Regions from separate parts of the Homo sapiens genome. Here region 2 is linked to region 1. The links are contacts of gene promoters, found by promoter capture Hi-C in blood cells and fetal thymus (Javierre and others, 2016). All regions are on one chromosome and are shown on one strand. The core of a region is centred on a gene start or on the middle of the fragment in contact, and the rest is flanking DNA. Distances in the headings are between cores, read along the strand shown.

Region 1 (4,684 bases), core at 1,201-3,700:
AGACAGACATATCAACTTTGTATCAATCAGCACAGATATACATGAGGTGAGCTCCACAGAACCACGAGTCATTCCGTATAGCAAAGTGAGGAAAAAGGTTCTGCCAAGGCCTTGATTGTTAACAAAAAAATTTTTTAATGTAGTTTACTGCTTAATCATCAGTTGCATTCAGTACAACTAGGGCTAGAAAGCTTTCTGGAAGGCAGAAAAATGTAAATTAAAAGTTTCTAACAACCACACACAAATATACAAAAAAGCTGACTTAAACAGCAATTGATGGTTATTAAGACTCAGAGCCAGGTGGGGCTTGGTGGCTCACGCTACTAATTCCAGCACTTTGGAAAGCAGAGGCAGGAGGATTGCTTGAGCCTAGGAATTCAAGACCAGCCTGGGCAACACAGGGAGACCCTCTCTCTCAAAAAAAAAAAAAACAAACCAAAAAAAAGACTCAGAGCCCATTTCTAATGTTCTTCCAAGATCATCCATTCTTGATTACATACTTGAATAAATCATTATCACCAAAAAGTTAATAAAAAAGAAACAACAGGCCGGGTGCAGTGGCTCACGCCTGTAATCCCAGCACTTTGGGAGGCCGAGGTGGGTGGATCACGAGGTCAGGAGATCAAGACCATCCTGGCTAACACGTTGAAACCCCGTCTCTACTAAAAATACAAAAAAAATTAGCTGGGTGTGGTGGCATGTGCCTGTAGTCCCAGCTACTTGGGAGGCTCAGCAGCAGAATTGCTTGAACCAGGGGAGGCAGAGATTGCAGGGGAGGCGGAGGTTGCAGTGAGCAGATTGCGCCGCTGCACTCCAGCCTGGGTGACAGAGCGAGACTCCGTCTCAAAAAAGAGGAAAAGAAAGGAAAAGGAAAAGAAAAGGAAAGGAAAGGAACGGAAGAAAGAAACAAAAATATAAAATACTTATTTCTTTTTCTTGCCAAGCACCATGCTCTGGGGTTTGCATGCATTATTTCTTACTTACTCTTTCAAGACAACTTTGTGATGTAGAGTACTATTAGCACCATTTAACCAAGGTGAATGTTAGCTTTAGAATAAGGTTGGATTAAGTTTCCTCCATTTCAGGAAACCGTAAATCCCCTTATAAGCGATGAAAACAAAGTTAAGAGCTGCGACCAGTTTCTTAGGGACTTTCGGTAAATAAAACTCTTGGCTTATTTTCTGCCCTTACCGGGAGCGTCTTCGGTGCGGGGATCGCGAGCGGCTCCTTCTCCGATCTCTCTCCCGAGACCTGGACCTTTCTCGGCGCCTGCGTTCTCTCTCCCGGGATGTGGACCGGGAACGCCTACGTTCTAATGCAAACGCACACAAATTGCAGAACTGATAATTACCTCAAATATCTAGAGCTGCGCCGTCCAGTAGAAAAATAATGCAAACCATTACTAGTCACATTAAAAAGGTAAAAAGAGGCTGGGAGCGGTGGCTCACGCCTGTAATCCCAGCACTTTGTGAGGCTGGCGGGCGGATCACAAGGTCAGGAGTTCGAGACCAGCCTGGCCAACGCGGCGAAACCCCGTCTCTAATAAAAATACAAAAATTAGCCAGGCGTGGTGGCACGGACGGGTAATCCCAGCTACTCGGAAGGCTGAGGCATGAGAATCGCTTGAACCCAGGAGGTGGAGGTTGCAGTGAGCTGAGATCGGCCACTGCACTCCAGCCTGGGCGGGCGACAGAGCGAGACTCTGTCTCATTAAAAATAAATAAATTGATTTAAAAAAAAAACGAATCAGGGGCAGAACCGAGGGTCTAAGTTAGATCTCCTAATGGAAGTCCAGGGTTCTTTACGTCGCGCTGCCTCATTTATGGGGCTGGTAGCCAGAAAACATTACGAAGTGAGCTCCCAGGACTCAAAATTCTTAATATCGATTTCCCTGTAATGACCTGGGCAGGAATCTAACATTTATTAAGTATTTAAGAACCAGGCAGAATCACATACTGTATGTTATGGGATGTGACATTAATTCTCACATCAGTTTTTAAAAGTTGGCAATACTACCCTCAATGACTCATTCTGGGAATTCGATTCAGAAAGGCTGAGTAGTGACTTGCCCACCGTCGCCCAGAAATTCAGCAAAGGAACTGAGGTCTAATTCTAAACCCACCGGCCACAGTGTAATAAAAGTTATTGTATGAAGGTGACAAAGACTTAATGAAACTAATTCAGAGACAAACAACTGCCTTCAAACCGGAGAGGGCGGGCTGAAGAGGGCAGGGCCCAGGTCTACGTTCCTTTATCCACCCCTCGCTCTCCGCCTGGGAAAAGGGCCCGCCTCTCTGCTACGCGGCTACCAAAAACAAAACAAAATAAAACAAAAGGGACAGGCCTCCAACAGAGCCCCATATCCTCCGAATTGCTACAGGACTCACCCCTCCGTGGAGAGCGGCTGCGACTGCGACCCATTTGGAGTCCCGCTTCCCGGAAACAACTGTGCAACAACTTCCGGGAGGGCCGGGAACCGAGCTTTTACCGCCGACCAGAAAACGTCAAAACGAGTTGCGAGGGTTCCGGTCTTCTTTGTTCACGGTGGGCATTAAAACATGCGATTTGGTGTTATTATAGAAATTCCTGGAAAATTCAGCCGTATACCCATTATCCTAACACAGCTTTCATTTTTCCCCCATTTTTGTCCACATGCACAAAATAGAGCAAACCAATTGTAAACATAGCATAGACAAACAGCTTATGTTCTTCCACTTTTCCACATAACATTCATAAGGAGTGAATATACCAAAGTTCACTGTCCATCTGCTTTATATTTTCTCATGCCAGCATTGAGAAGGCACCCAAAACCTCCTATGGGCTCTTGGAAGGAAAACTAAAGGCCCCAGATTCCATCCTACCCGACAAAGTACTTCCCCAAAGTTGCCTCTGTCCTCAGGGAAAACAACAACAACAACAACAAAAACTTTAGAATGTTCAAAACTACAAAAATTAGGAGAAAGACTGTCTTGCCCCAAGGCTGAACCGTCTGTGGTAGAGCATAAATATGCTTACCAGGAAAGACTCAAACCTCTATTTCTTATTTTATTTTATTTTGTTCCAGGGTACATTTGCAGGATGTGCAGTTTTGTTACATAGGTAAATGTGTGCCATGGTGGTTCGCTACACCTATCAACCCATTAAGCCTTGCATCTATTAAGCTATTCTTCCCAATGCTCTCCCTCTCCCCAGCTCCTCCCCCTACAGGCCCCAGTGTGTGTTGTTCCTCTCCCTGTGCCCATGTGTTCTCATTGTTCAGCTCCTACTTATAAGTGAGAACATGCAATGTTTGGTTTTCTGTTTCTGTGTTAGTTTGCTGAAGATAATGGCTTCTAGTTCCATCCATGTCCCTGCAAAGGACATTATCTCGTTCCTTTTTATGGCTGTGTAGTATTCCATGGTGTATACGTACCACATTTTTTTAATCCAGTCTATCATTGATGGGCATTTGGGTTGATTCTATGTCTTCGCTATTGTGAATAGTACTGCAGTGAACATATGCGTGCAAGTATCTTCGTAATAAAATTATTTATATTCCTTTGGGTATATACCCAGTAATGGGATTGCTGGGTCAAATGGTATTTCTGGTTTTAGGTCTTTGAGGAAACACCACATTGTCTTCCACAATGGTTGAGCTAATTTACATTCCCACCAACAGTGTAAAAGTGTTGAACCTCTGTTTCTAATCAAACCAACTCTTTTCAGTCAGCTCTCTCTAGAATTATCAAGTCTAGTGACCTGGCTTTTAAAATACAAAGAGCTGGGGGATGGAAAGGGACTTTATTAGGTTGGAAAAAATGCCCACCAATCACATAAATTTTTAATTAGATTTATACATTCAGAGTGGCCTGTTTAATACCTGTCCCAACCCAAACTTCCAGGAAAGATCCAGCCATGACATCTAGGATTTCTACCAACAGCCCCAACCCCCAGATGCCTTTGGAATTACCCTGGCAAAGCATGCACTAGGTGTAGAATGGGGAGGTTCAAGGGAGGTGCAGACCCCAGGGAAGAAGATTTAGGGACATCATTGGAGAAACACACCACTAATGATAGCCAGGCGTGGTGACGCATGCTTGTAATCCCAGCTACTTGGGAGGCTGAGGCAGGAGAATTGCTTGAACCTGGGAGGTTGAGGTTGCAGTGAGCTGAGACTGCGCCACTGCACTCCAGCCTGGGCGACAGAGTGGGACTCCGTCTCAAACAAAAAAAAAAAAAAAGAAAGAAGAAGCACACCACTAATGATTGAAGAAATTATCCACAGGAAAGACAGGATTTATGGGAAGCCTAAGGGGGTATGTACTAGATGTGTAAGAGAGGAAGAACATGGTGGCCTCAGGTGGTGGCTGAAAATACTCTTTCTTTCTCTTTCTCTTTCTCCTTCTCCCCTCAGGGCTGGGGTCTCATCTGATGAAAATGCTTTTTAAGAAACCCCTCACCCGGCGCGGTGGCTCACGCCTGTAATCCCAGCACTTTGGGAGGCCGAGGCGGGCGGATCACGAGGTCAGGAGATCGAGACTACAGTGAAACACCGTCTCTACTAAAAATACAAAAAATTAGCCGGAGGTGGTGGCGGGTGCTTGTAGTCCCAGCTACTCGGGAGGCTGAGACAGGAAAATAGTGTGAACCTGGGAGGTGGAGCTTGCAGTGAGCCGAGATCGCGCCACTGCACTCCAGCTGGGCG
Region 2 (4,684 bases), core at 1,294-3,793, 270 kb before region 1:
ACTTGTTAACTTTTTCAAACTTCAATTAGCTGTTTATTTTGTAAGAAAAGTTACTAAAGAAGTGTGTATGTGTGGTTTTTTTTTCCCTAGCCTGTGGTCAGCTGTTAGATGAGGCACAAGTGACTTTATCCTTCCAAGACTGGCTGGCCAGTGTCACAGAACGCATCCATCAAACCATGCACTATCAGTTTGATGGTAAGTATTGTTCATCTAACTGGGCTCTTGCTGAAAGTAGGAGAAATTAAGGTAATTGTGCTGTAATTCTCCTCTGATAGGAAAAGTAATTGGACTTCAGTCCAGAGAGCACTGGGCCACAAGAAAGTAGAAATCTAATTGAAAGAAAAAAACAATCACATAGTTAAAATTCAGGCGCAGCAAAATTATTATAATTTAGAGACAGAAGAGAAAAAACATAGCAAATAATAAGTAAAGGCAGGTAGTCTTATTGCTTGCATAAGTTCGTGTGCACGTGTGTGTGTGTGTGTGTGTGTGTGTGTGTGTGTGGTGAGGGAGATACTGAAGCTTTATGAGACTATTCTAACTCTCAAACTTAAAGCAAGGGGAAAAAAGATTAGAGAAAATCTAAGCCTGCACAACATAGTGAACCCCATCTCTACAAAAAATAGTGCCATTGCACTCCAGCCTGGGAAACGAAGCGAGACCCTGTATGGAAAAAAGAAAAATTGAAAATCTAAACACATGAGACTAAGATAGTTATATAGAATTACTAAACATACTGGCCGGGCATGGTGACTCTCACCTGTAATCCGACACTTTGGGAGGCCGAGGTGGGCGGATCACTTGAGGTCAGGAGTTCAAGACAAGCCTGGCCAACATGGCGAAACCCTATCTCTACTAAAAATACAAAACAATTAGCCAGGCATTATAGTGGGTGCCTGTAGTCCCAAATACCTGGGAGGCTGAGGTGGGAGAATTGCTTGAACCCGGGAGGCGGAGGTTGCAGTGAGCCAAGATCGCACCATTGCACTCCAGCCTGGGCAACAGTGAGACTCCATCTAAAAAAAAAAAAAGGGACATAAACATGCTGAGGAAGATTGGAGAACACAGGCTGGATTTGGGTGTTATTTGTTATAGTCTCATGGAACGTCACCAGTTTCAGATCTAGCCAGTCTCTGCTTGTTGCCTTAAAAGTATCCTATTAGCAGCCGGGTGCGGTGGCTCATGCCTGTAATCCCAGCACTTTGGGAGGCTGAGGCGGGCGGATCACGAGGTCAGAAGATTGAGACCATCCTGGCTAACACAGTGAAACCCCATCTCTACTAAAAATACAAAAAAATTAGCCAGGTGTGGTGGCGGGTGCCTGTAGTCCCAGCTACTCGGGAGGCTGAGGCAGGAGAATGGCGTGAACCCAGGAGGTGGAGCTTACAGTGATCTGAGATTGCACCACTGCACTCCAGCCTGGGTGACTAAGTGAGACTCCATCTCAAAAAAAAAAAAAAAGGATCCTATAGCTGGGCATGGTGGCAGAGGCCTGTAGTCCCAACTACTCAGGAGGCTGAGGTAGGTGAATCACTTGTCGCCCAGGCTGGAGTGCAGTGGCGTGATCTTGGCTCACTGTAATCTCCACCTCCCAGGTTCAAGCAATTCTCCTGCCTCAGCCTCCCAAGTAGCTGGGATTACAGGCACGCACCACCATGCCTGGCCAATTTTTTGTATTTTTAGTAGAGATGGGGTTTCACCATGTTAACCAGGCTGGTCTTGAACTCCTGACCTCAGGTGATCCACCTACCTCGGCCTCCCAAAGTGCTGGGATTACAGGCGTGAACCACCGTGCCCAGCCCAGAAAACAGAATATTGATAATACTATAAGCTAAACACTTGTAGTCCTCTTCCATCCCATCCTATTCCCTCTTCCATCCCATTCCTGTACCACCCTCTATTCCATCTTACCATCTCCATTACTACCACCTTTGTCCAGGTTTCCATCAGCTCGCTCCTTGACTATGAGTGTGTGTGTTTTACCTTTTTGAAGTTAATTCTTTTTTATTTTTTGAGACAGTCTTGCTCTGTCACACAGGCTGGAGTGCAGTGGTACAATCTCAGTTCACTGCAACCTCCACCTCCCAGGCTCAAGAAATTCTCGTGTTTCAGCCTCCTGAGTAGCTGGGATTATAGGCATGTGTCACCACTCCTGGCTAATTTTTGTATTTTTAATAGAGACAGGGTTTCACCATGTTGGCCAGGCTGGTCTCGAACTTCTGACCTCAAGTGATCCGCCTGCCTAGGCCTCCCAAAGTGTTGGAATTACAGGTGTGAGCCACCACACCTGGTCTGGACAGAATTTTTAAGAAAGACTGAACTCACTTGACCCCCTCCCCTTAACTCTTTTTGTTGACCTAATGTCTGACAAGTTTCTTTTCTTTTTTTTTTTTTGAGACAGAGTCTCACTCTGTCGCCCAGGCTGGAGTGCAGTGGCGTGATCTTGGCTCACTGCAACCTCCGCCTCCCAGGTTCAGGCGATTCTCCTGCCTCAGCCTCCCAAGTAGCTGGGACTACAGGCGCATGCCACCATGCCCGGCTAATTTTTTGTATTTTTAGTAGAGATGGAGTTTCACCATGTTAGCCAGGATGGTCTCAATTTCCTGACCTGGTGATCCACCTGCCTCATCCTCCCAAAGGGCTGGGATTACAGGTGTGAGCCACTGTGCCTGGCCGCAAGGTTCTTTAAGAGGTTGGTTAAGTACTTTCAAGTATTTTACCTGCCTTGAGGTCATATTCAGAGAGAAAGACAGATGCTTGCTGGGTAAGCAGTGTCCTAACTTGTAGTCCCTCAGCATTCATGGTGCTGACCATCGGGTGAGAGAGCATGTCATTAGTTTGCTTAGACATGAATGCAAATAGCAAGAACCTGGGGATAGCGAGCAAAAGGGAATCAAGTGGAGGCAGCCACCTCGGCCTCATTGTTCTCATCCCATCTTACTTCGCATACCCTTTAAGGGGGAAAGTCTGTGCTGTGTTGGTCTTTTTAAAATTTGCGGATTTGAAATGTTATACTTGGTGGATGACAAGGGTCTACTGTGTTGGTTTGTTTTTTCATTGTCTTTTTTCTTTTTTTTCAGTGGAGTCTCACCCTGTTGCCCAAGCTAGAGTGCAGTGGCATGATCTCGGCTCACTGCAACCTCTGCCTCCTGGGTTCAAGCGATTCTCCTGCCTCAGCTTCCTGAGTAGCTGGAATTACAGGCACACACCACCATGCCCAGCTAATTTTTTTTTTTTTTTTTTTTTTTAGTAGAGATGGGTTTTCACCATGTTGGCCAAGCTGGTCTCGAACTCCTGACCTCAGGTAATCCACCCACCTCGGCCTCCCAAAGTGCTGGGATTACAGGTGTGAGTCACCACGCCTGGCCTCTCTTTTCTTTTCTTTTTTTTTCCTTTTTGAGGGAGGGTCTCACTCTGTTGCCCAGGCTGGAGTGCAGTGGCGTGATCATGGCTTACTGCAGCCTCAACCTCCTCGACTCAGTTGATCCTCCCACCTCAGCCTCCCAAGTAGCTGGGACAGCAGGTGCATACCACCACGCCTGGCTAATTTAAAAAAAAATTTTGGCCAGGCACGGTGGCTCACGCCTGTAATCCCAGCACTTTGGGTGGCCGAGGTGGGTGGATCACGAGGTCAGGAGTTTGAGACCAGCCTGGCCAACATGGTGAAACCCCATCTCTACTAAAAATACAAAAATTAGCCAGGCGTGGTGGTGCACGCCTGTAGTCACAGCTACTCAGGAGGCTGAGGCAGGAGGATTGCTTGAACCCGGGAGGCAGAGGTTGCAGTGAGCCGAGATCATGCCATTGCACTCCAGCCTGGGCAACAGAGTGAGACTCCATCTCAAAAAAAAAATTTTTTTTTATAGACACTGGGTCTTTCTTTGTTGCCCAGGCTACACTGTGTTTTTTATGTTTGCAAGGGATCAACAGTAGGACTAGTGACAGTTCTTGGCCCAGAAAGGTCAATCAAAGCCTTCTTTTTGCCTCTGTATAAAGAAATCTCAGTGGTATTTTTAGTTATTACCGTCCCTTGATTCCTTTTCTTTCACCTCTCCCTGTACATCAGAAAGTCCACTGAGTTTCTTTAAATGAGTTGTTTCTTCTTGTTTCCCATAGGCAAACCAGAACCATTGGTGTTCCACATTCCTCAGTCATTTTTTGATGCCCTGCAACAAAGAATATCTATAGGAAGTGCAAAAAAACGGCTCCCCAACTCCACCACAGGTACAGGATTTCCCTTTGGTATAGTGATGGATGTCTCGAACATAGAGAATTATGTTTGGAAAAAATCTGTGTGGAATATTCACCGTGAGTATTCAGAGTTAGGACTTCTACTCACATGTCTGGAGCACAAAGCCTTCAATGATCAGCATATCAATTATCTACATCAACTGATTTGTCACCAAAACCTTTTATATATTTGCCTCTAGAATTTCTTTTTAAAAGTGCTGAGAATCTATAAGGAAATAATAGTACTGTATTAGAAACTAGGTAACAAATACAACAAAAGAAAATGTTATTTTTTGGTAATCTAATTTTGTCCTTTTTTCACGTTGAAGCTTTTGTTCGGAAAGATGCCTTGCCACTGGGAACCTTTTCCAAGTATACTTGGCATATCACTAATATCCTGCAAGTTAAACAAATCTTAGATACCCCAGAGGTGAGAGTTTATTTCTATAACAGT

The links. Contacts are between HindIII fragments. The CHiCAGO score rates a contact against its expected background, and 5 or more counts as called.
Region 2: a contact is called between a fragment that was not itself captured here and the fragment with the promoter of SNRNP27 in region 1, in 11 of 17 cell types (naive CD8 T cells, M1 macrophages, monocytes and 8 more). The highest score is 9.7, in naive CD8 T cells.

What each region holds. Positions count from the first base shown.
Region 1 is chr2:69,891,722-69,896,405 of GRCh38, reverse strand. It overlaps SNRNP27 (small nuclear ribonucleoprotein U4/U6.U5 subunit 27), which reads right to left and starts at 2,450. Exons shown (of 6, transcript NM_006857.3): 1 at 2,388-2,450; 2 at 1,192-1,312. The coding sequence starts at 2,421. RefSeq lists enhancers at 955-1,889, 2,088-2,147, 1,890-2,825. The HindIII fragment of the contact is 14,817 bases long and covers 194-4,684 here.
Region 2 is chr2:70,165,068-70,169,751 of GRCh38, reverse strand. It overlaps C2orf42 (chromosome 2 open reading frame 42), which reads left to right. Exons shown (of 10, transcript NM_017880.3): 6 at 91-195; 7 at 4,117-4,224; 8 at 4,560-4,660. Among named protein-coding and RNA genes, the nearest start is that of C2orf42, 24 kb to the left of the region's middle. The HindIII fragment of the contact is 4,037 bases long and covers 525-4,561 here.